Linked DNA regions of Homo sapiens: regions 2, 3, 4 and 5 are each linked to region 1. The links are contacts of gene promoters, found by promoter capture Hi-C in blood cells and fetal thymus (Javierre and others, 2016). All regions are on one chromosome and are shown on one strand. The core of a region is centred on a gene start or on the middle of the fragment in contact, and the rest is flanking DNA. Distances in the headings are between cores, read along the strand shown. Region 1 holds the start of C1orf115 (chromosome 1 open reading frame 115). Region 2 overlaps RAB3GAP2 (RAB3 GTPase activating non-catalytic protein subunit 2). Region 3 overlaps RAB3GAP2 (RAB3 GTPase activating non-catalytic protein subunit 2). Region 4 overlaps RAB3GAP2 (RAB3 GTPase activating non-catalytic protein subunit 2). Region 5 has its middle 34 kb from the start of RAB3GAP2.

The links. Contacts are between HindIII fragments. The CHiCAGO score rates a contact against its expected background, and 5 or more counts as called.
Region 2: a contact is called between a fragment that was not itself captured here and the fragment with the promoter of C1orf115 in region 1, in 1 of 17 cell types (megakaryocytes). The highest score is 5.8, in megakaryocytes.
Region 3: a contact is called between a fragment that was not itself captured here and the fragment with the promoter of C1orf115 in region 1, in 1 of 17 cell types (naive CD4 T cells). The highest score is 5.1, in naive CD4 T cells.
Region 4: a contact is called between a fragment that was not itself captured here and the fragment with the promoter of C1orf115 in region 1, in 1 of 17 cell types (naive CD4 T cells). The highest score is 5.5, in naive CD4 T cells.
Region 5: a fragment that was not itself captured here is called in contact with the fragment with the promoter of C1orf115 in region 1 in 1 of 17 cell types (endothelial precursors); the score reaches 5.4 in endothelial precursors.

The regions. Positions count from the first base shown.
Region 1 is chr1:220,688,374-220,693,706 of GRCh38, forward strand. C1orf115 (chromosome 1 open reading frame 115) reads left to right here and starts at 1,990. Exons shown (of 2, transcript NM_024709.5): 1 at 1,990-2,338. The coding sequence starts at 2,030. RefSeq lists a silencer at 1,821-2,060. The HindIII fragment of the contact is 6,585 bases long and covers 1-5,060 here.
Region 2 is chr1:220,182,534-220,187,866 of GRCh38, forward strand. It overlaps RAB3GAP2 (RAB3 GTPase activating non-catalytic protein subunit 2), which reads right to left. Exons shown (of 35, transcript NM_012414.4): 18 at 3,118-3,208; 19 at 1,503-1,630; 20 at 185-398. Among named protein-coding and RNA genes, the nearest start is that of MIR664A, 15 kb to the right of the region's middle. The HindIII fragment of the contact is 3,479 bases long and covers 1,397-4,875 here.
Region 3 is chr1:220,230,915-220,236,247 of GRCh38, forward strand. It overlaps RAB3GAP2 (RAB3 GTPase activating non-catalytic protein subunit 2), which reads right to left. Exons shown (of 35, transcript NM_012414.4): 2 at 1,885-1,949. Among named protein-coding and RNA genes, the nearest start is that of SNORA36B, 33 kb to the left of the region's middle. The HindIII fragment of the contact is 4,769 bases long and covers 233-5,001 here.
Region 4 is chr1:220,265,313-220,270,645 of GRCh38, forward strand. The region is part of intron 1 of RAB3GAP2 (RAB3 GTPase activating non-catalytic protein subunit 2); the gene reads right to left. It also overlaps the pseudogene AURKAP1. Among named protein-coding and RNA genes, the nearest start is that of RAB3GAP2, 4.5 kb to the right of the region's middle. RefSeq lists enhancers at 1,954-3,153, 5,235-5,333. The HindIII fragment of the contact is 2,562 bases long and covers 2,414-4,975 here.
Region 5 is chr1:220,304,202-220,309,534 of GRCh38, forward strand. No RefSeq gene overlaps it. Among named protein-coding and RNA genes, the nearest start is that of RAB3GAP2, 34 kb to the left of the region's middle. The HindIII fragment of the contact is 3,814 bases long and covers 235-4,048 here.

The DNA of each region.
Region 1 (5,333 bases), core at 740-3,239:
GAGGCACTTTTACTGTTTAGTTAATTCTCCTAAACATTTCAAGCAACTTTTACAAATTTAATATTTGACTTTCTTTTCAAGTACTTCAATTCTATAACAAAACTCTAAGTAATTCTTATAAATATAGTAAGTTAAATTCATTTTCATACCCATTTCACCTGAAATTGAATTGTACATAAATTTTATATACTATTTTACATATAAAGACTCTATGTTTTTAAGATTAAATATAAGTCATTACTTATTACCTTATTACATAAGTTAAATAAAAGCGTAAATCAATTAGCTGATTACTTTTTTTTTTTTTTTTGAGACAGAGTCTCACTCTGTTGCCCAGGCTGGAGTGCCGTGGCACGATCTCCGCTCACTGCAACCTCTGCCTCTTGGGTTTAAGCGATTCTCCTCCTCAGCCTGCCGAATAGCTGAGACTACAGGAGCACGCCACCATGCCTGGCTAATTTTTGTATTTTTAGTAGAGACAGGGTTTCACTATATTGGCCAGGCTGGTCTCGAACTCCTGACCTCAGGTGATCCACCGCCTTGGTCTCCCAAAGTGTTGGGATTACAGGTGTGAGTCACCGCACCGAGCCACACATTTTCACTTTTTTAGAAATGGGGCCTACGTTGCTCAGAACTCCTAGCCTCAAGGGATCCTCCCACCACAGCCTGTGGAGTTGCTGGGATTACAGGTGAAAGTCACCATGCTGGCTCACATTTTAAGTTGGAATCACAAAACTAATTTCTTTTGCATCCTAGTGAACTAAATTGTCGTAAACATTGTATGTGCTTATACCAACATATACACGTTATTCTTAAATTTAATCACAAACTTTAATGTTAAAATATCAGTGTATCTAACAATCTATGTTATTTTATACCTAAGTATTTTTTTGAGATGGGATCTCACTCTGTCGACCCCTTTGGAGCGCAGTGGCACAATCATAGCTCACTGCAATCTCCACCTTCCAGGATCAAGCGATCTCCCTACCTCACTGGGACTACAGGTAAACTTTTGTATTTGTTTTTCTATTTCTAGAGATGAGGTCTCCCTGTGTTGCCCAGGCTAGTCTCAAACTCCCAGGCCCAAGCGATCCTCCTGAATAGCTGGGATCACAGGTGTGCGCCCCTACGCCTGGCTAATTTTTTTTTTTTTTTCTAGAGATGGAGGTCTCACTATGTTGCCCAGGCTGTTCCCCAACTCCTGGGCTGAAGCTATCCTCCCGGCCTCTCAAAGTGCTGGGATTACAGGCGTGAGCCACTGCTTTCGGCCCTTAATTCTACATTAGCCAGAATTCAAAGGCATTTACCCACTTAAGAAAATAGGGCACTCTCAGCTTGTTGAGATTCACAGTACACTGATAATGCTTATCTCACAGAGAGATATTCCTGAAAATCATGATTTTAAAGACTGCGCCATATGCTGGCATGTCTGCACCAGAATTTCCTTTGCGCCTCCCTGTTGGTTTGCTCCACTTTTTCACTGAGTCAGACCGTTGAACACCGTGGACACACTGTCTTGCGTTTCCGAATATTTCCTAGAATACGGACGTTTCCTAAGACTCACGATAAAGATTTTCTGATCGTCTCTCCAAAACCTTGCCACCAATTTGCACTCCCACGAATCCTGTTACCGTGACTATCTCGCCATGCCCTCCCTAGCACTGAGCGTGATCTCTAGTATCATTTTCCATCGTTGCTAATTTGAACATGAGCAGATGGAGTCCTATTATTTGGGGTCATTAATTTCGTAGCAAGTGCAGTTGAAGGTGTTTTGCATGTTCATTGTGCAGTGCGCGCCGTAGTCTGCACAGTTTGGCCGGCAGGTGGGATGAAGGGCGGGGCTGGCGGAGCGCGCCCGCCGCCTGGTAGGCCAGTTCGGAGCGGAGCCAACGCTATCCCGGGCCCCACGGCCAGGGGGCGCTGCGGCCCCCCCAATCCCCCGCCCCGTCCGGGCTGGGGCGGAGGAGCGGGCGGGGACCAAAGGTTGGTGTCTTTGCGCTCGGACCTTCGCCAGAGGGGCCGGGACATCATGACGGTGGGAGCCAGGCTCCGAAGCAAGGCGGAGAGCAGCCTCCTGCGCCGCGGGCCCCGAGGGCGAGGGCGAACCGAGGGGGACGAGGAGGCGGCCGCCATCCTGGAGCACCTGGAGTACGCGGACGAGGCGGAGGCGGCGGCCGAGAGCGGGACGAGCGCGGCGGACGAGCGGGGCCCGGGGACCCGGGGCGCGCGGAGGGTGCACTTCGCCCTCCTGCCCGAGCGCTACGAGCCACTGGAGGAGCCGGCGCCGAGCGAGCAGCCCAGGAAGAGGTACCGGAGGAAGCTGAAGAAGTACGGCAAGGTAGGGGCCCTGCGCCACCACTGCCCGGGGGGCGCGGGTGTGGTGTCCCGCGGGGGAGCGGGAGCCGGGTCCTTACCATCGACTCACCCAGTTTCTCCGGGCTGCACCTGCGACCCCTCCGCCCCCGCTCCCATTCCCTCGCCGGAGGGAAGCCGCGAGTTGCGAGTCGTGATAGAAACTTAAATCGGGGGTTGCGCTGGGTGGTCCCTGCTGTGCCTGCTATTGCGCTCCTGGCTTCTTAAGAACATTCTCAAGGGGCTCCTACCGCGGTGGTTTTTATGTAAGATCAGGAATCAGTTTCCTGATTACAGATGGGAATACTGAAGCGTTAGCGCGGCAGGTGACTTGGAGAAGGTGGCCCAGTTGGAAAGAAAGAAATTGCAACCCAGTGTATTTGTTTTCCAGTAACATCCCCTCCAGGATATCCCACTAGTTGAGAAATGTTTGGGTTACTCTCCCAAATATTCCCAAGGTTATTTCCCGAGCCTGGGAGCGCAACAAATACATAAATAGGCGCTCGTTGAATTTTTCTCGTCTAGCCAACTATCAGTGTACTCTGGGGCCTTCAAAACATTCTGCCGTTTGTCTCGGGGAGATGGGGTTAGGAAGAATGAATATGGGAGAAAATGACAGTTTCCTTCGCGGAAATCAAAGCGCAGATGCAGTTCCCAGGTGTCTCTGCATGGAAACAGTCGAAGCTGCTGCCGGAAGCTCTGCTGGCCTGGACAAGGCCACCCAGAATAAAGTCACAGAAGTTACTGTGTCCTGGCCAAAGGCCACGGGCCCCATCTGATTTATTGTCTATTTATCTGTGTTGCCCAATGCCGTCTTACACCTGAAGCCATTCAGTCTCCATGCCTGGGAGCTTAGGTTTATCATCCTCTTTAAAGGTATGTCAGCAGCTTCTGGAGCAGAATACAGGCAGGGGTAAAACTATAAAGTTGGGTCTTTCAGGCTTAGAGCCCTGCTAGGACGATTCATCTCTGCTTTGGGTCCCAGTTGAGCACAAAGAAGCCATCATGTCCCTCTCCATTGGTGAACTGATACTGCAGAAACCTCAGCTCAAGGACTAGGACTTGAAGATATTTTGGGGGCACTCATTATGCGTCAGGCATTGTGCTGAGCAGTAGAGATGCGAAAATGAATACAGTGCAGCCCTGCCCTAGAGAAGGGCACAGCCTCCCAGGGAGACACTGACATAGCTGGCTCCCCCCGCCCCCGGGGGGGCTTCAGGGCACAGAGCTCAGGCAGTTCACTCCTCAGCGGTGAGCTTGTAAACTCAGGGAAGTTTTCAAATCACGGTGACATGAAAACTGGGCACAGAAGGATGAGTTAAGATTTCACCAGATAACAGTGAAGTGGTATGAAGTAGGCACACTTCATCCCCACTAGAACGGCTACTCCAAAAAATGTCCAAACAAACCGAATAACAAATGTTGGCGAGAATGTAGAGAAATTGGAACCATTGTACATTGCTGGTGGGAATGTAAAATGGGACAGCTGCTGTGGAAAACAATTTGGGAGTTCCTTAAAAAGTTCAGTGTAGACTTATTCTGTGATCTAGCAGTTCCACTCCTAGGGATGTAACCAAAGAATTGAAAACAGGTACTCAAATCAATGTTTATATACACATTTTAATGGAATTATTATTTACAATAGTCAAAAGGTGGAAACAACCCAAATGTCCCTAAATGGATGAATGCATAAACAAGTGTGTTATATACATACAATGGAATAGTATTCAGCCATAAAAGGAAGGAAATGTACTAATCCATGCTACAATATGATGAACCTCTAAAAATATTATGCTAAGTGAAGTAAACAAGACCCGCAAGATCACATATTGTGCGTATGATTCCATTTGTATGGAATGCTTAGGATAGGTCAACCCATGGAGATGGAACACAGATTGGTGGTTGCCAGGGACTGCGGGAAAGAGGAATGGAGCCCATCTGCTTAATGGGTAATGTGTTTTTTCCTGGGGATGATGAAAATGTTTTGGAACTAGATAGAAGTGGTGGTTGCACAACAATGTAAATGTACTAAATGCCACCGGGCTGTACGCACTTTAAAATGGTGAATTTTATGTTATGTGAATTTTGCCTTAACTAAAACAAACAAAAAAAACAAGATTTCAGTGGATAGAGAAGTGGTGTCATCTCAGGTAGAGGGGCCATCACAAGCCCAGCTGTGGGCATGAAAGCTCTAGAGTGTTGCACGCTAGTTCAATGGACCCAGGAGGCCAGGTGAGAGGATGTCGTCAGGTTAGGGTTGGATCTCTCCTTTCTGCCCTTCAAAAGTGACTTCAGCTTCTACTTTCTTGGAGCCACCTGAGAGGGTCACCAGGCTCAAACATGGAGATATAAAGCAGGTGACCCCTCTTTGTTCCCCGAGACCCCAGCTCCCCTCTGAGAGAGTAGTTGGGTAGAAAGCTCTACTCAGATCAAAGAATTCCAAATGCACTCTCTTAAATGACACTGAAATAGTGGTTGAGAGATATTTTATGTTTCTTTGCATTTCATTTCTCAAATCTGTGTTTTTAACAGTGTTCCAGTTAATGAACTATTTTAGTAGATTTTTTTTCCCTAAATTACAAAGTGACAAGTAGCTTTTAAAGTATAACAGGCTGAGCAAAATGGATGTACAAATACCAAAAATGTCACGTTTAATGCAGGCGATTGTCATTCTGATCTTGTTTATAATGGATCACTCTTGATTGTTAAGCTTGTTCCCAGAGAATATGTTTTTCTTTTGTTGTTTCAAACATGTAAGTAAAATTCCCCCAGTGATTCTTATCACACATTTAAAGAACTGTATCTCTTAGCAACATCACATACCCACACATGCGCATGCCCCAGCCCAGTGTCTCTTTGAGACATCAACAGGGTAATGTCCAGGAAAGCAGTGTCTAGAGAAGACACAGACATTACTTGGTTCTTGCAAAGCTCCTCATTTAGCGGGAGAGGTACCAAAGGAAACACTCAGCCTCTTTCTA
Region 2 (5,333 bases), core at 1,886-4,385, 500 kb before region 1:
TTAGTATACTCATTAATACAACCTGTTGACCAGAGTATCTTTTGTTGGCCAAAAAATACAGTACATTAAATCCTTTCATTATTTAAATTTCAAAACAAATGGAATCTCTGAGATGCTATATGTTCCTACCATGTTTTCTTCTAAAAGAAGAGGCATACAAAGACCAGTGTATTATTTTACCTACCTAAAGCCACATATTCCTCTTCACTTATTTTCTTTATGTTGAGCACATCCTTTTCATATTCTAAATATTCCAAGAATGTTTTTACAGGCAACACACCATCTTTATCATCAGAAAATCGAACATTTGTCCTGGTGTTCTCTTGCTTATATTTCTCTAGTAATGCCTGGAGCTTAAGCAGTTCTTTTTCATCAAGCCTTAGTAACAGAGCCAAGTCCTTTAAAACAGAAAACAAAACAAAACAACATTCCACATCTATCACCCACATTATCTGAACTGAAATTCAAGGCTGTAAGCAAAAGTCGACTTTTTAATTAATATAATACCTATCATGTATTCTGCTTAAAACTTTACTTACAAATCACGTTTCATGAGTAGGAAGTTATTTAAATAAAGTAAACTATAATTTTGAAACACTGCATGTTTGGTACCAAACCAAACATGGTACTAGAGGTAGGTACTAAAAGAAATGGTATTAAAAGTACCATTTTAGGATATTTCTTGAGGGTACTTTATTATCTTCTAGAATGTTAGCATTTTTTTTTTTTTTTTGAGACAGGGTCTCACTTTGTTACCCAGGCTAGAGTGCCTTGGCACAATCATGGTTCACTGCAGCCTTGACTTCTTGGGCTCAAGCAATCCTCCTGCCTCAGCCACCTGAGTAGCCGGGACCACAAGTGTGCACCACCACATCCAGCTAATTAAAAATTTTTTTTTTTGTAGAGGCAGGGTCCCACTATGTTGCCCAGGCTGCTCTCGAACTCCTGGGCTCAAGTGATCCTCGCACCTCAGCTTCCCAAAGTGTTAAGGTTACAGGTGCAAGCCACTATGCCTTGGCAAATGCTAGAATTTTAATAAACATGTATTACTGTATAATCAGAAAAAAATTTAAAAGGGTGTCAAACGCAACTCTTACTATTCTGAGGAAACTAAATATTGAACTTAAATGCTTAATTATAAAGCAGCGTAAACACTATAAAATAAAAACATAGAAAAATATTCTCATTGTATCTACATATAAGTCCTGTATGTGGCTCTCAGGGATACAACCTGCTAGGCTTTCAAACTATTTTTATATACTATATGTACAAAAACATATCATGGCTGGGCATAGTGGCTTATGCCTATAATCTCAGCACTTGTATAAATAATATAAATATAGCAGCAAAGCACAGAGAGCTAGCAGGGGGCTTGGTAAGGAAAATATACCTTTAAAGCTTTAAAAAAAATTCTTAATTTTCTACTTCTTTACTACTAATTTTAAAAAGTAAAACTAATCAAAGAGATTATTTTATATAATATAAAATGTGGGATTACTCACATTATCAGAGAATGGTGTGTCTAAATGAAAATCAAGGGAATTTAATTGACTGACAGACTCATAGAGTTGCAGCAGTTTTAGTTTATTGGCACAAAACTGTAGCAATCCTTCATCAACAGACTCAAGTTCTAAAAGGCAGAAGGAAAAGTATATATAAGAGATATATTTAACAGACTCATAAACAGGCTTTGCTTTCATTAAATCTCTCAATATTATGTAATTCCCTGATGCTCTGATGTATTAAATACTGAGATGCTTAAGCTATACCAGGTTTTGAAAGCAAAAATAATTTTTCTGTCATGACAAAATGTCTAACTTTTTAAATAAAATAAGATGCTCTAAAAGTAGGGAGATAAAAAAGGAAGCGGAAATATCTTCATCTAATACTTAAAATTTAAAGAAATTATCTGGAAATACCTTTGAAAATATTTTCCCTGACTACATAATTCATATACTGTATGAATATTTATATCTAATATAAAAGAAATATTTATTCTTTAAAAAGGGAGACACTGATAATCCCCTCAAAATCTTATTTGAAATACAGTATCATGGAATATTGTTCAAGTTCTTATAGCCATAATAAAACTGACCACACAAAATGATTAAAGTTTTTAGGAATCTTATGTTTATGTAGAACTTGAAACTGATGATTTTATGGAATTCCAACAATGGTGTTTGGTTTACTACCAGGCCAGTGGAAGATAACTTTTCATTTAATAAATTTTGGGATGTTGTGAATGCCTTGAGGGGTGGGAGGGCTTTGTAAGTATACCACGCTTTTTAAAAGAGGGATTTATTTCTGACAAGTGGTGTATGCTAAAGGAGTTCACTATTTGCCAATGTCAGTTTTATGTATCTGTTAAAAAAAAAAGGTTGAAAAAGAGTCTCAAAATTAGCATGTTTGAAGTCCTGAAAGAACAAATTATAATTTGTGTATTAAGCCACTTTAAGCTGTCTTACACACAACTAAAACACAAAGCTGGTTTTACATAATTAATATGACAAACAAAAGTCACAACTAGATGACATCAGTCCACTGCACACAATTTAACTGATGTTAGGAATTCAGAATAAAGTGAATTTTTACTAGTTCAGTTGGATGGAATATGGTGTTACAACCCCACAGTTTCAAGTTTCAAGTGTAATCCTTTTTCAGACAAATACATTTTGACGGACTGATGGATTTTAAAGAACAATGTGATAGTACAGACAAATTTTGAATATCAAAAAATGACCAGAAAATTCAGAAATAATAATCTGATTGTTGATTGTGATTCTGGAAGTCCTTAACTCTGTTCACGAGGGAAACTGATACACTGATAGAACATTAATACAAAGCTATATCAGAATAACCACTTATCATTCTATCCTGACATCTTTCCTCACAATTAAAAACAACTTCCCAATAACAGTCAATACATTCAAAGACAGCTTAGATGAAGATCAACTACATATATTAAATAGGGAATAAATAAGATTCTTAATTTCTTATATCTATATTACTTCCACATTAAAGTAACATGATGGTATCACAAAGTCAATAGCTTTCTATAATCAGAGTTACAAAATTTGAGTTAAGAACATAACCTCCAATCAGTACAAACCCTATTACCTTGACTTTTTAAAGTGTCCATTAAAGTCTGAGTGATGTTTCTAAGGCAAGAAAATGGTAAACGTTCACTTGCCAAAATGCTTTCCAAAGCCTAGGAGAAAGATATTGAACAGTTCTAGTAATTATAAGGCAGTGATTTTGTTTTTTAAATCTTATATTTATGCCCAAACTTTCACTACCCCAAATTTCAAAGGGAAGCTCTATATTTAAGATGTTTTAGTGTACATATATTAAATCTCAAGTTGCGTTGTTAAGTAATATACAATCAACTTCATGTCATGCCAAATATGACATAAATGACAAAAATCCAGGCTGAGAATAAAACAACTAGAAGGCAACTGCTACTTAACAGAATAGCCAAATCAAAACAGAAACAAAGATAAAGCTATTTACCAATAAGAAGAGTTTGAATATGCCTATACTATATAGGCATAAACGAAAAGCAGAGGTTATTGTCATGTCAATAACAAAAGCTGCCAAAAACTTAGTTATACCTTAATTATTGCATTTGTGCATGGCAGGCAGAATCTATAGGCCCTGCTAGATGAATACAGTACCCACCCTTCCCTACCTCCCTCTCCCCACCCCCATAGATATTTAAGATTCTTCATAACCAGTCCCAAAATATCTCTTCATGCCTAAAGTAGCAACTATCAGAAGTTAAAGGTCATATTTATCCTTTCATATTAGCACATTAAGTTGGGTTTTAATTAATGAGATTAAATAGTTCAAAAAGTAGGCTGAGAATGTGGGATAAGACAAATATCCGATCATAACACAATAACCTCTGCGTGTTTGTGGAGGAGAAATGGGCTTAGAGGGTGGCTCAAGATGTTGGTCAGGCCTATAATGAAGTAACTACCAGGAAACAATAAAGAAAGTGACTGTAAGAGGCCAGAACCCAGGACAAGCATAACCTGCTCCAGTTCTGCCTATGATTACCCAGGCTAGCAGCTAGCTTGTTTTCTTCCCCATTATTCAACAGTCTCCCAAAGCCTGAACTGGTTTCTTCCTTCCCTTTAGTCAGTCCTAGAAGACCTATAACTTTTGTTACTGGGTTTTCTAGCATTCTTTATAAAATTCACAGCTTCATACATGATTCAGAAGTACCATTAAAAAAAAGAAAATCAAGAAGACATTTTGCATTATGCTGGTTTCCCAATTTTGTTGTTCTATGATTTAGGATAAGAAGAAAGATGGCATAAAAATGAGAAGAACCGTGTGGGTTATGACCCTTTCTACTACAGATTTCTCAATATGCCTCTCTAGATGCCCACTTTGTCATCATCATGTCATCTCTAATAACAGAGACTTTACCCTGAGCAAAATGAGAGCCAATTAGCATTGTCAGTAGAATGGAAGACACAATTAAAAGTCACAAAGGCTTTTCTGTTCTACAATAACTCAATAAAGTGTTTTAAAAACGGACTGCAACAGAAATCACTATTCACTAAATTCTCCCATGTATCACTATTCACTGAATTCTCCCATGTATGTAGCTATAAAATAATAAGAAATATACATATTGGTCTATGGCCCCAGTACCTGACACAGAGTTCCTATAATTTCTTGAACAATGGGGGTGCTAGGAGTTTCTTTTGTTCTAGTGTTTGGTCTCTGTCCTAGTTCATCAGTCAGAGCTCTTAATCCCTTTGTAGACAGAGGTGCTAGGAGAACCTTTTGTTCTAACATTTGGTCTTTGACCCCCCATTTCTGATGGGGAGCTTCTAAGACCTCTGTAATTTCCTGGGTGATAGAAGCTTCTTTTTTTCTAATGAGGCCACTCATGGCAGGCTCCTGGAGAGCTTCAGAATAAGGGGGTGGTTACCAGTGGAACCAACCATGTATTTGAGGATTGAAACTTTTAGCCCAACCCCTGACCTCTGGGGAGCCAAGAGGAGCTGGAAGACTGAGTTGATCACCAATGGCCAATGATGTAATCAATCATGCTTATATAATGAAGCTTCCATCAACACCCAAAAGGACAAGGGTTGGAAGAGCTTCTGGATAGCTGAACGTGTAGAGGTTCCTGAATAGTGGCTTGCCAGGAGAGGGAATGGAAGCTCTGCAACCCTTCCCATATGATTTACTCTATGCACCTCTTCCACTTGGCTGTTGATCTCTACCCTCTGTAATATCCTTTATAATAAATGGGTAAACGTTCAAGTAAAACGTTTCCCTGAGTTCTGTGAGCTGGTCTAGCAAATTCATCAACC
Region 3 (5,333 bases), core at 1,367-3,866, 460 kb before region 1:
CTGAAAATTATCCAGAATTCATCCATTTCTCATCTTCACTAATACCACCTTAATCAAAGCCACAATCATCTCTCAACTAAGCTACTGCAACAGCCTTGTAATTGGTCTTCCTGCTTCTACTTTTGCTCCCTACTTCAACCTATTCCATAGAGCAGCCAAGGTGAGCTGTCAAAGTCAGAAATCAGGTAAGTGTGGTTTTCCATTGCATTTAGAATAAACACCAAATTCACAAAGCTTGACATCTGGCCTGCTTTCTTCTCTGCCCCATCTTGGAACAGTCTCAGTCCTGCTACATCACACTGGCCTTCTTTATGTCCCTTCAAACTCTCAAGCCCATTCCTGCCTTGAGACTTTGCATGAGCTGCTGCCCTGGCCTAGAATCCTGTCAGATTCTCATGTTGTTGACTCCCTGTTGCCTTTTAGATCTCAGTTTAACTGTCACAGCCTCTGAAAAAACTTCCTTAACCACCCAATCTATAGCAGTCACTTGCTATCACATTACCATTTGAATTATTTTTCATCCATCTTTCTTTTTTATGTCTCCCTCTCATAGAGTGTAAGCTCCCAGAAATAGGACTGTAAGAAGACCTATCTAATATTCATTCTTCTTTCTTAAAAAAAAAATCCTGATTTTGTTCAGGTATCAACTCCTTCCGTGTGGCCATGGGCCTCAGGAGAAGCTGACCCTCTTATCCTCTAACTCCAGGGAATAATATGATTCAACAATGAATATCTCATATCCCTTGCCAGTGATTAGTTCAGAAATGAGCATGTGGCCCAATCCTGGCCAAGAAGACATAAGGAAAAGTTTGCTAGAGACGTCTAAGAAAGTAGCTCCCTAACTCCTGAAAGAGTCATGAAAAGCCCAAGTCTTTTTCTCCCTCTACCCATTAATGAAGAAACATGTTGTCCACACTACATCTGTGAATGAAACAGGCATTAGGATGAAGCCAACACTGCATATACAAAGTAGACAGAATGAAATAACTTGACATATTTGAATTGCCTGATCAACCAACCCAGGATTCCATTCTATCTTTGGACTTCCTTCTATGTAAGCGAATAAATTTTCTTCATATTTAAGCCAATTAAAGTTAGATTTTTTTATTACTCATATGTGAAAATATACTAACATATATAGGAACTTTGTCTGCCTTGTTCCTTGCTATACTCCCAGCATCTAGAAAAATGCGTAGAATATGGTAGGTACAGCAAATATTTGAGTGAATAGTGAAAGAATATAAAAGAATAATTTATGAAAGATAAAGAATCCTAAAACAATTATTCTCCATTTAGCCCACTGCTATGGTTTGAATGTGCCCCCAAAAAACATGTGTTGAAAGTTTAATCCCCAATGCAACAGTGTTGGGAAATGGGGCCTAATGAGAGGTAATTAGGTCATGAGAGCAGAGTGAATAGATTAAGGACGTTAATGAGGGAGTAGGTTCCTTATTGTGGGAGTGAATTTGTTATAAAAAGAGGAGTATTGGCCCATGTTTTCTTCCCTCCCACCCTCTCCACCAGCCTCTGGTCCTATCACCTTCACCGTATTATGATGCAGCAAGAAGGCTCTTGCCAGATGCTGGCCCCTGATCCTGGACTTCCCAACATCCAGAACTGTGAGCCAATCAATTTCTGTTCATTATGAACTACCCAGTCTCAGGTATTCTGTTATAGCAACACCAAGTGAACGAAGACACCCGCTTTAGCTACAATGTCATTAAGTTCCTTAAGAAGAGGTATCTAGTTAAGTACTAATAAGTAAGCACAAAAATATTCTTGACATCGAATTTAAAATGTCAGCTTGACAGGGAAATATGTCACCATCATTACAAAAGGAAAATGCCACTATCAAAAAACATGCATATATTTGTAAAGACTTACAGGTTCTTGTGGTTCATTTTCTTCCCATGCTCCCCAACCATCATCTTCCCAGTCTGTTGATTTACCTGTTTTTAAAAAGATGAACAATGCTTGCATGAAATATAGGGCTTTAAATATCTTTAAAGCATTTTTTCTAAACATCATAGAACCAACCCCTGTATAATGCTGATATTAAGAAAGAAAATAAGGGTAAACTGTGTTATACCAGGATTTTGCTATATGTAATAACAATCAGAAAATATTTGACCTACTGAATTTCTAAATTTATATATTAGCAAAATTGTGTGCAAGTTATTAGTGAAATTGTGTGTGAGTTATCTGGATCTTAAGATATTGGACATCAAGTTAATTCACATTCAAATCAAGCTGCAAAGGTGACGTTTTAAAAATCTAAAAATGACAAATGTTTATTACTCAAGATACTGGACAAATATACACGGTGATAAAAAAAACACCTAAAATTTCACAGATGTCTTAAAAAAGTAACTTGCTTTTTGATAAGACTAATCATCAATGGAAAATAAAACTGAATTTTGAAACAAGACAAACCTACTATTCTGCACCCTTTTCTGATATTCTGTGATTTCTTATATGTTGGATCGTCCTCTCAGAGGAAAATAAGACGGTCAACAACAATGCAACAAGGAATGTAAAAGCCCAGATAGGTTTGGACAGTATGTTCCCTTACAAGGTCCAGGTGACTGGTTTTTACATAGTCATCTTTTAATTTATCAGAAGAGAAAAAGCTATCATTTTTGAACAACTACTCTGAGACAAGCATGAGATACTTTGTATGCATTAATAAAGTACAAATAAAACTTTAGGCCCCAGAATCACGCTGCCTAAGTTTTATTTGAACTTTATCATCTTTAAAAATTTAATTTGAGGCAATACATATAAAGTGTATGTGTTTTTTTTTTGAGATGGAGTCTCACTCTGCTGTCCAGGCTAGAGTACAATAGCGCAATCTTGGCTCACTGCAACCTCTGCCTCCCGCGTTCAAGCCATTCTCCTGCCTCAGTCTCTGGAGTAGCTGGGACTACAGGCACCTGCCACCACGCCCGGCTGATTTTTGTATTTTTATTAGAGACAGGGTTTCACCATATTGGCCAGGCTGGTCTTGAACTCCTGACCTCAAGTGATCCACCCACCTTGGCCTCCCAAAGTGTTGGGATTACAGGCGTGGATCACCACGCCCGGCCTTGAGGTAATACATATAAAGTATTGAATGCTTGTTCAAATCCTGATCTAGCACTTACTGTCTCTGTGACCTAGTGCAAATTACCCATCTAAACTTTAGTTTTTAATCATAAAGGCATGGAAAACATGACTACCTCTATCTGGTAGGGTTGTTGTAAGGACTTACACCAGATAGCATACTAAAGTCCTCAGTGCCTGACACATACCAAGTTCTCAATGCTGGTCAAGGTTTAGCTAAATAAAATATTATATTTAAGCAATCAGCTTTAAAATTCTGGGGGGAAAACAATTTAAAAGATGGGACTGATCCTGATGGCTTACAGCAGGAAGCAAATAGATTCACTTATATACGAGGTTTTAAAGGTTGCTGAAATCAATTACATACAGATGATTAAAGAATTTGTTATAGTCTAGTACTTGGAGTCATTGTTCAATTAGCTTTGTAGTAACAGTCTAATCTTCTGTACTTAAATGCCAAATAATTACTTCCTAATAGGTATATATTAAGTCCTAAAATAGCACTATCATTTGATTAACATTGCACAATTTATAGAAGAGTTCCATATACAAGTCAATTAGCAATTTAACAAATACTCTATTAAACACCATGTGGCAAATCCTGTAGTAGGAGCTGAGAAAAGTACAAACATACTCCTTGCCCTTGAAGAATTCATGATCTACTGTAGAAGGCAGACAAACATGGAACCATAATATATGGTGAGTGCAGTAATGGACTACTAATGGGAACTTGGATGAGAAAGTAAGAGATGGGGAAAAAAATACAATGAATAGTTAACTTAAACTCAGTCCTTAAAAAGTAGCTAGAAAGGCTAGGGGAAAAAGTCAACATGAATGAAAGAGGCAGAAAGATGCAATGTATATGACGACTAACATGTATTAAACATTTCTGTATGCCTAAATGCTTTATAGACATTATTAGTTCATTTAAACATCACAGGATCCTTTATTGTCCCTATTTTACAATGAGAAAACAGATTTCTTGGAGAGTTTAAGTAGTTCGACCAAAATCACACAGGAGTAAGTGGCAGAGTACAGTGTGAGTTCAGGTCTGAGTTCCAAAACCCATGCTCCTAAGTATTAGACTACATGTACTCCTACTATGCCTCATGAAGGGTAAGATTAGGGAAAAGTGGAGTTTACAGTTAAGGCCAAAAGTAAGAAGGTTCTTATTTAAAAATAGAAACATTCCCTTGATATTGCAATTTAGAGATATTTTTAACTTGGAAAATTAGCTTGTTTTTTGGCGATTTAATTCAATTAAGCAATCTCTTTATTTTGCTAATTTTTCCATTGCACCAGAAACAATTGTCTTATTGTGAGTTTAAGGCAGGCAACAAGGCTATCCCATTTAAAGTTTCAGAATATGTATTATCTCTTACATTAGAAAGCAAAGAATCTAAAAGAGCTTATTACTATAAAGTTCATGATTCAATTTTTAAATTGCTATAAAAATAATGTATATATCAAATTACCACAATCTCGAAAAGACCATGCAGAATTTAGACTCTTCAGGAAGGCTGTAATCATTCATGCATTCAACAAACACATCTTTTATGTTCTGGGAACTGTGCTAAGTGCTGGAAATATAAAAGCAAATAAGCCTTCAAAGAGCTTAGTTTGTGTACATAACCTCTGTTGAATGTGTATAAAATAAACTATAAAAAGTGTGTTATTTCTCCTCCATATTGGTATAAAAAGTACCTGACTCAATTCACAAATGACTCATATAAGCAAATAGAAGACAGCAGTAATTTGGATTTCCTACCCCTGCAGAGACCCAGTATCTCTCTATGCCACAATTCAGAACCTCCAAGAAAAGAAAGACCTTGAGAAATACTTTATACAAGATATTTAGGTTTATGAAGGTTTACCCATTCTCAATGCCCCTGACTGGAAAGCTTCTTTCAACAAAAAGGAAAGAGAATTTAATTGGGCATCTTCTATTATCATAGGAATACATTTTTCCCAACCAAGTCAAGATAAAGGAAGGTGAAACAGCACTATTATTCAGCTAAGTTTAAGATATTTTTTGTAGGTTGCTCTAGAAGACTAAGCCTATTTATAATACTATGAGAGAATGCATTCCAAATTATAGTCACCTTAAAAATGGGAAATGTTTTGCCAGTGGGGCAATACCCTTGTGGCTATTTATTTTTATTTTTTATTTATTTATTTTGACATGGAGTCTTGTTCTGTCACCAGGCTGGAGTGCAGTGGTGCCATCTCGG
Region 4 (5,333 bases), core at 2,445-4,944, 420 kb before region 1:
ATTCCCTACATGCTTTATATTCTGGTTGGTAAAAGAGGCAAGAAGGAAAACTATTCCACATTTTTAGTATGTCAATAAGAAATTATTTTACTATTAGGTAAATCAAGAAATCCACAATATTATAATACCCAAATTATCTCCAACTATTCTGGCTCTCCCTCTCTATTCATGTATTTATTTATTTATATATTTATTTATATTTTTGCCCAACCCAACTGTAAATTTCAGAAAGTTCTGGTCTAGGCATTGGAAATTATGTCACTATAGGTTAAATGGGGACCCATAAAGTGGGGACCTATACTCCACCCATCCCTGCAACTTCAAAGTAATAAACCAGGGAGAGTGGCTCATGCCTATAATTCTAGCACTTTGAGAGTCCAGGTGGGAGGATCACTTAAGCCCAGGAGTTCAAGACCTGCTTGGGCAACACAGCAAGACCCTATCTCAACAAAAACCAAAAAAATTATCTGGGCATGGTGCTGCATACTTGTAGTCCTAGCAACACAGGAGACTGAGGTGGGAGGATCCCTTGAATCCAGGAGTTTAAGGCTGCAGTGAGCTATGATCATGCCACTGCACTCTGGCCTGGGTGACAGAGTGAGGCCCTGTCTCTAAAAAACAAAAACAAAACAAACAAAAAAGCCACAAAGCAGTAAGACCAGACTTCATGTCTTAAGTAGATAGTATTTACTTTATAAAAACAAAATTTAACAGTTGTCATTAATGTAAACATTGGGAAAGGGTAGGGTTCAGCATCTTTTAAAGCTACAGAGGACAGTCTTCTTTTGTAATTAAATATACAAAGTAACATAAAGTCATACTTTGATAATTCAAATATAGAAGAGAGTGGTATCACTATATCTCTAGCAGCTGTCCACAGTAAAATAAAAGTACTTTTTTTTCTGTACAAATATCTTTATTTTCCTACTTAAAAAGAATCACGTACTCAGTCCAACAGCTTTACCAGGCTTGGCCAACCCAATAAGTTACACACTCACTCAGGTACTTGGAAGGTTATTGGACAGCTCCTTAACCGATCGAGTCAGCACAAAGTGGTCACTTTCCCCATAGCCAGACTCTGGATTTGCCTCCTGGGAGGACACCATGCCTGGCACAGACTGATGGGGTGGCTGCAGTCGAACCTTGCCTCCAGATTATGAACCAGTATAAGTAGCACAATTCTCGTGGCTACTTTCACTTCAGAGTGTCATGTTTATTGATGTGGAGCTTTCTGAGTAGGGAGGTTAAGGCACACCTGCTCAGTAAAACAAATATTTCTTTTAGTGTTCTAGATTGAGGGCAGCAGTCAATGGTAAAATAAATTTTGGTAGCATGTTCCTGAGAGGTTATACAGCAGCCCTGGCTCAAGGATTTCTCCCCCTGCACGATTCCTAAGAATACTTGCTAGTTGATTCTTTGTTTTGGCAATTTGATGGTTTTGATGAATTTGCTGTGATCCAGGGGTATTCAAGTACTTCTCTGAGCATTGGCCTCTGGCTGGGAACATGCTTCAACAGTCTTGAAATGAGGTCCCTGGCTCCCTCTGTTACAAAGTCAGGGAATGTGAATTCTCAACCCGTGATATTCTTTTGTAGGTCTCTTGGTATGTATTTGCCTCAAAAGGAGGCTTCCCAACTAAAAATTCACAGCAAAGAACTCCAAGGCTCCAGAGATCCACCTTCTCATCATGCATCCGACCTTCAATCATTTCGGGGGGCAGGTAGTCCAGGGTGCCACAGAGAGTGGTCCTCCTGGAAGATGGAGCATGTTCTGACCACCCAAAATTTGCAATTTCAAGCTCTCCAGCTGATCCAAGAAGTAAGTTCTCTGGCTTAATGTCTCTATGAATAACTGTTTTTGAATGACAGTAAGACAGGGCACTTGCCAATTCTGTGATATAAGTAGCAGTTCTCTGCTCATCAAACTTTGAAAGTTTCTGAAGTTCTGTATTGACTGTTTCAAGTGGTGTATATTCCAGAATTAGGTAGACTCTGGTGGCATCATGGAAATAACCATACAGTCTGATTATATTAGGATGTTGGAGGTGGGACTGTATTTCTACTTCTCTTCTGAGTTGATGCTCCACTCCTGCTTTCTCCAGCTGAGCTTTAAATAACACCCTAAGAGCCAGAATAAACTTGCTTTGTTTTTCTCTTGCCAAATAAACATTACCAAACTTTCCTTTACCCGGAGGGCGACCAATTTCAAGGTCTTCCAAAGCCCATTGCCTCTTTTTGATTCTTCATTTTTCTGTTTTGATGCCAGTTCCTCCTCAGGATTATTTTCAGGTGCCGACAGCGGGGACTGCTTGCTGTTTTGGGTGTTATTCAGTGGCCTGGAGGCAGGATGAGGTACACTGGTTGCCTGCAATTGCTTCTGCTTCTGATTCTGAACTGGCTTGTGACTGGAGACAAGCTTTTGTGCTTGCAAAGGAACACGCTGCGAAGAATTTGAAGGACACAAGACCCACTGAGCCTGGCCACTATTTGCAGGTAATGGATTCTGACAAGGAAATTGCTGAGTCACGAGAACATGTTCTGGACCTCCAACTGGAGTTTTAGCCTCAACAGGCCCTGAAATGCAGTTTTCTTCAGATTGGTCCGTGATGCCTATGACCCAAGGACCTGAGTCTTCCAAGAGCTCAGCCCAATAAAAGCACTTTTAAACCAACTGATACACCTCTATAATTCACAAGTAATTGAGGTGTTTTATGTTTTTACATATCCTCTAGAGATGAGCTAGGTTAAGAAATTACAACTATATCAGCTAAAAAAATTTAAGATGATCTCATGATTTCTGCTTCCCAATAAACATTTATAACATTAATAAATAAAGTGAAGAAAAGCAAAGGCAAATACCATCAGCAGTTTAAGTCAGGTCCTATTTACCTGCTCTGCTAATGTCATTTTTTCTCTGTAAAATTTCACTGTACAAAAGTTTACGTTCAAAACTCTTTATATTACGGCTTGGCCTAGACTATCTTAAAAGTGCTCAGAACACTTACATTAGCCTATAGTTGGGCAAAATCTTCTAACACAAAGTCTATTTTATCATGAAGGGTTGAAAATATCTCATGTAATTTCTTGAATACAGTACTTCTTGAATACCGTAGAGTACAGTCTCTCATATTTGCTGCTGCTACCCACCATCACAAAAGAGTATCTTACCCATTGTATCACTAGCTCTGGAAAAGATCAAAGTGCAAAATTTGAAGTATGGTTTCTACAAAGTACACATTGCTTTCACATTACTGTAAAGCTAAAAAATTGGAAGCCAAACCATCATAAGTCTGAGATCATCTGTACAGGTTTTACAAAGGGGCTCACTGGTGAAGAGGTCCATTCTGTTCATTTTCTACATGAACTGATCATAGCCACAATAATATCAACATACATAAACTCAAGAATTTGATTTAGAAGAGAAATACATTAAACCATATTTATAAATCTATAGGTATAGTGCAAATTAATCTAGATGTTTGGGGTGTATTTATATCCCCAACTGCCTATGTAACTTGGACAAGTATTCAATCTGTATGTACCTGAGTTTTAGCACCTATAACTGTGCCATACTATATTATAGGCATTAGCCACTTTGGCTACTTAAATTTAAATTAATTAAAATTAACTTGAATTTTAAAAATTCAGTTCCTCAGTTGCACTGGCCACATTTCACAGGCTCAATAACCACATGTGCCTAGAGGTTACCATACTGGACAGTAGAAATATAATGATGAAAATAAACAGGATGATATGATTGAGAACAACAAGTAGGAACAAGGGGGTTGTATTGACTACTTTAGATCTAGATCAGGTGGTCAGAAAAGGCTGCCCTGAGTTGACATTTGAGCTGAGACTTGAATGACAAGATGCAACTAGCATGCAAAGATCTGCAAAAAGCATCCAAGGCATAGACAACAGTGAGGGCAAAAACCTTAGCCACAAATGTGGTTGGCTGGTTTAACAACAAAAAAGAGCGTCTGAAGCATAAGAAATAAGGGGAGAGGTGTATAAGGTCCAAGAAATGGCAGGAAGCAGAGTCTCAAGGGCCTTATACACCATTTAAGAACTTTGGATTTTACGTTAAGTGCAATCAAAAACCATTGAGTGTTATTAAAAGGGCAATGTTAGGCTGGGTGTGGTGGCTCATGACTGTAATCCCAGCACTTTGGGAGGCCAAGGCAGGTGGATCGCAAGGTCAGGAGTTCAAGACCAGCCTGGCCAACATAGTGAAACCCCATCTCTACTAAAAATACAAACATTAGCCGGGCATGGTGGCGCATGCCTGTAGTCCCAGCTACTCAGGAGGCTGAGGCAGAAGAATTACTTGAACCCAGGAGGTGGAGGTTGTAGTAAGCTGAGATCATGCCACTGCACTCCAGCTTGGGCAACAGAGTGAGACTTCATCTCAAAAAAAAAGGCAATGTTGTGATCTAAATTATGCCTTAAAAGCTCACTGTAACTACTGTTGAGAATTATTACAGGAAACCAAGAGCAAAAGCAGGAAGAATTGCTAGAAGAAGACACATATCATATCATAGCCCAGGTTGAGAAAAGATGGTGGCCTGGACCAGGAGAGTGGTAGAAGGATAAAGAAAATCTGTTCCTTTTTTCTACATTCCCTATCTACAATCCTGCATCTGCTATCCTTCACAGCCAAGCTCCTTGAAATAGTATATTTCACTTTTTAACCCCTTATCCTATAACTATGCTTTCTGCCTCCACTATCCTACTGAAACTGTCCTAAGGTCCAAGTTACCTCCACCTTCTCAAAACCAATAAGCATTTTTCTATCCTTTTCTTACCTGACCCCTGCTGCATTTGCAAAACTGCTGACCATTCCTCACCCTCATCAAGTTCTCGCCTTCCTCAGCTCCGAGGGCCTTACTCTCACATGATTTTCCTCTTTCTTTTACTCCTTCTCAGTCTTCTTCCCAGTAACCTCTACTTGACTTTTAAACACCAGTGCTCCTCTAAGCTTACAGCTTTAGTACTCAGTGCATTTCACAACATACATAATCCTTGAGACTGAACTGACACTTTTTGCTGTTAGCTCCCCAATTAACATCTCTGGCCCAGTACTCCCTACTGTTTAGACTATCTATATCTGGTGTTCAACCAGATGTCCTTACTTGGACATACCATAAACATTTAAAATGCAAAAGGTTGAAAATCTGTATCCTTCATTCTCTTATTACATATAGTTGCCCAAACCACAAGCCAAAGACTTCCTAAACTCCCCCTCACTTACTAGTTACAATGCCCATCACCAGACCTTCACAAGGTCCTGCAGATTCTAACTCCTTAACGTCTTTCTAATCTAGTCCTTCATCT
Region 5 (5,333 bases), core at 892-3,391, 380 kb before region 1:
TCAAATACTAAGCTGCACATGTAGATAGGAAGACTCCATGAAATCGACTGGAGATCCTGGAGGATACACAGTGCTGGGGAAGCATTTAAATTCTAACCAATCAGAGTGAAGAGACCATTCTATATACTCTGAATATTTAGATGAGATCACAGAAAGGTTACACTTTAAGGGAAGGGCTAAATTAGTCCTCGAGTAAAGGTAACTCTTCACCTGGCCTAATACATAGTGAAACTAAGCTTCAGCAGGATTAAACTAAATCACCAGTTAACTATCTGCAAGAGCAATACTTAACAGTCTTAAAAGAAGACAGTAAAATCCGTTGTGTTATCTATAATGTCCAACTTGCAATAAAAGAAATTATTAATATGTAAAGAGATTAGAAAACAGGAACCATAATAGGGAGAAATGACATTCAGTAGAAGCAAACCCAGATATGGCACAGGTGTTGGAGTTAGCAAAGACTGTAAAATAACTTACAAATATGTTCAAGGGTATAACAGAAAATAAATAAAAAATGAATGATCAGATGGGAAATGTAAATACAGAAATGGAAACTATTTAAAAGAAGCAAGTGGAAGTTCTAAAAAAAAACATGAAATAAAAAATTTATTGACTGAGGTTAACATTAATTTGACCACTGCAGAAGGGAAAAAAATCAATAAACTTTAAAACACATCAATAGGAGCTAGCAAAACAGAAGCACAGAGAAAAAAAAATGACTGCAGAAAAAAAAGAACCAACTTCAGTGACCTTTGGGAAAATATTGAGTGGTCTAACATATTTGTAATTAGAGTCCAAGGCAAAGGAGAGACAGAAAAATGTGTTTGAAGACATTTTGACTAAAAAAAATTGAAATTTGATGGAAAATGTCAACCTAGAGATCCAACAGGCTCAACTTACCTCAATCAGGATAAACACAAAGAAAACCATACCATGCCCATCATAATAAAATTGCTAAATCAAAGATAATCTTGAAAGCAATTGGAGAGGAAGAAAAGATGTATTAAATACAGGACAACAATAATAAATATGGCTGCTGAACTTCTCATCAGAACTAATGCAAGACAGAAGACAACTGAATGACATCAATTGTACTGATGGGAGAAAAGTACTGAGAGAAAAAATAAACTATTAGCCTAGAAAGAAAATATGCTTTAGAAATGAAGGTAATAAAGATATTTTAAGGCTGAGAGTGGTGGCTCAGACCTGTAATCCCAGCACTTTGGGAGGCTGAGGCAGGAGGATTGCTTCAGCCCAGTAGTTCTAGACCAGCCTGGGTAACAAAGAAAGACCTGTCTCAAAAAAAAAAAAAAAAAAAAAAAAAAAAAAAAAAACAAAGAAAAAGAAAAAGAAAAGAAATAAGAAAAAGAAGATATTTAAAAAAAAAAAAAAGCTGACAGAATATGATACCACCAAACTTGTACTACAAGAAATGTTACAGTAAGTTCTTCAGGATGAAGGAAAATGACATAAACTCAAACCTAAATGAAGAACACTGTAAATAGTAAATATGTGAGTAATTATTAAAAAATACTTTTTTCTTGTTCCTTGAGGCCAGGAGCTGTGGCTCATGCCTGTAATCCCAGCACTTTGGGAGGCCGAGGTGGGCGGAACATTTGAGGTCAGGAGTTTGAGACCAGCCAACATGGTGAAACCCTATCTCTATTAACAAAAATATAAAATTAGCCAGGCATGGTGGTACACACCTGTAGTCCCAGCTACTCTAACATTGAGGGGGAAAATTGTTTGAACCCAGGAGGCAGAGGTTGCAGTGAGCTGAGATTGCACCACTGCACTCCAGCCTGGGCAACAGAGAGAGATTCTGTCTCAAAATAATAATAATAATAATAATAATAATAATAATAATACTTTTTCTTGTTCCTTGATATTCTAAAAGACAATAGACTGTTCAAAGTGAATATAATAATAATGTATTGTGAGTTTTATAACATATGTAGAACTAAAATTTTTGACAAAATCAACACAAGGAACACGGAAGTAGGGTTAAGTGACAGCCTTGTGTTGTTAGCTTTTTACATTACATGTGAACTGTAAAATGTTAATTCAAGGTAGAACAAAAAACAAACAAGAAGTATAACTAAAAAGGCAATAGATACAATTAAATATTTTATTAAATATATTGTATTAATATAGTGTATTAAAATGCTGTATGCTTTAATATTGTATTAAAGTATTAACTAATTCAAAAGATATCAGGAAAGGAGGTGTAAAAAGATCAAAGAACACATAGGATGAATAAGAAACAAACAGCAAGACTTAAATCCAACCATATCAATAATTACAATAAATGTAAATGAACTAAACCCATCAAGAGGCAAAGATTGTCAGATTGGATAAAAAGCAAGATCACATTGTATTTGTTTGCAAGAGATGTACATGAAATCAAAAGAAACATGTAGGTTAAAAGTGAAATGATAGAAAAGATATATCATGCAAACACTAATCATGAGAAAGTAGAATAAATAAGAAGAGAGACGGTTAATTAGAGAAAACAAAAACAATAAACTAAAAGGAGCATCCAACAGGTGCAATATTTAATTGTCATTCTAGATAAAGAGAACAGAGGAAATGAAAGTATATGATCAAAGAAGTAATAAGAGAACTTTTCCTAGATTTGAAGGACATAAATCTCCAGATTACAAAGGCCCACAAGTGCCTAATAAATAAGGAATCAAGCCAACTTTTACAACACCAGTGATAGAACACACTGTAAATCTTCAGAGAGAAAAATAGAATATATACATAACTTCTGGAATAACAATGGGACCAGACTTCTCAATCACTGGAATCGTAGGAAAGCAATGCCTTCAAAAGCCAAAGAAAAATTCTTTTCTTTTCTTTTCTTTCTTTTTCTTTTTTTTTTTTTGAGACGGAGTCTCGCTCTGTTGCCCAAGCTGGGGTGCAGTAGCGCGATCTCGGCTCACTGTAACCTCTGCCTCCTGGGTTCAAGTGATTCTCTTGCCTCAGCCTCCCAAGTAGCTGGGATTACAGGCACCCACCACTGCGCCTGGCTAATTTTTGTATTTTTAGTAGAGACAGGGTTTTGCCATGTTGGCCAGGCTGGTCTCAAACTCCTGACCTCAGGGGATCCGCCCACCTCAGCCTCCCAAAGTGCTGGGATTACAGGCATGAGCCACTGCACCTGGCCAGAAACATTATTTTCAATCTAAAATTCTACTCAGCCAAGCTATCAGTCGAGTCTGATACTAGATAGAAGACATTTTCAGACATGCAATGTCTCAAAAATTTACTTCCCCTTTCAAAAAGCTACTGAAGGATGGGCACCACCAAACAAGGGAGTAAACCAAAAACTAAGCAGCAAAGAAACAGAGGATATAACACCCGAATAAGGAGGAGAATTTGTAAGATGGTGGAAATATAAGTGTCCCAAGTTTCTGACTAAGCATCAAGCCTACAGTGTATCCAGCTCAGATTGGAGTAGGATGACAGAGCATACTAGGAGAGATGTCTCTAGGGATGAAAATGGATTTGATAGAGTATCCGATGAACTTGCAGAGAAAAAATGTTTCATGATGATGATTTCCAGGCTCCTTTTGCACTTATGAATCAGCAAGAAACATAATTCTGTCCGGTGAGATGCAAGCTGCATTCTATTGGGTGAAAATACTAGGAAAACTATTATTTTTCATTGAAAAAATCAAAGACTGGCTGGCACACTCGCTCTGTTGTCCTCACTCCTTCCTCCTGCTTGGAATGAGGATGTGGTATCTGAAGGACATAGAGAAACCATCTTGAGACCAGGAGAACAAAAACCACATACCAAAGATTTTGTAGGACAAGGATCAAGAATTCTGCAATATGGATGATATTATAACTAACAGAAGCAGTATTTCCCAAAGCACGGTGGGGAATGAGACCATTTTTTTATGGAACCGTACCCAGACATAGCATTAAATAGCCTTGTATTTTTAGTAGAGATGGGGTTCACACTAAAATTCAGCCAATCATTATCACTGTTTTTTTCCCCTGCTGAAATGACTGGATTGCTTAATACACAAACAGCCCAAGCTTATTATTGCCACCATCTTTGAACTTCCTTTCAGAGGAAGGGTGTATTGTAAATTTTTAAAGCTTCATATATTTCTGGTATCTCAACATGTCCACAAACAGGCTGTGAGCATTTTGCATAAGAAACCAAGTGCACCAGTTTGATGAAGCTGGTCCCTACTACAAGTTCACCTTTTTACCATAACTTGACTGTGACCTAGAGACATTCAAATGCACCGATGAAACCCCCTCATGTTTTTTGCTTGTGTACTTCACCTGGACTCCTAGTAAATCCACTTGCCCAGGGGTCTTTTCTCTTGGCTCCACTCCTGCTTGGTTGAGCCCACTTCTTTGGTACTCTTACCATGAGGCCCCTTCCATGGTGTGGTCCATGTCCCATTCTAGGGCCTGTGAGTATAATAAATCCTTTAATTTCATATGTTTCTCTGAGTGCAAAGGGTATTCAAATCGGAAGAGAGGAAGTCAAATTATCTCTGTTAGCAGATGACATGATTGTATATTTAGAAAACCCCATCGTCTCAGCCCAAAATCTCCTTAAGCTGATAAGCAACTTCAGCAAAGTCTCAGGGTACAAAATCAATGTGCAAAAATCATAAGCATTCCTATACACCAATAATAGACTAACAGAGAGCCAAATTATGAGTGAACTCCCATTCACAATTGCTACAAAGAGAATAAAATACCTAGGAATACAACTTACAAGGGATGTGAAAGACCTCTTCTTTCTTCAAGGAGAACTGCAAACCACTGCTCAAAGAAATAAAAGAGGACACAAACAAATGTAAAACATTCCTTGCTTATGGATAGGAAGAATCAATATCGTGAAAATGGCCACACCGCCCAAGGTAATTTATAGATTCAATGCTATCCCCATCAAGTTACTATTGACTTTCTTCACAGAATTAGAAAAAACTATTTTAGATTTCATATGGAACCAAAAAAGAGCGCATGTAGCCAAGACAATCCTAAACAAAAAGAACAGAGCTGGAGGCATCACGCTATCTGACCTCAAACTATACTACAAGGCTACAGTAACCAAAACATCATGGTACTTGTACCAAAACACATATATAGACCAATGGAACAGAACAGAGGCCTCAGAAATAATGTCACACATCTACAACCATCTGATCTTTGACAAACCTGACAAAAACAAGAAATGAGGAAAGTATTCTCTATTTAATAAATGGTGCTGGGAAAACTGGCTAGCCGTATGCAAACAGAAACTAGACCCCCTTCCTTGCACCTTATGCAAAAATTAACTCAAGATGGATTAAAGTCTT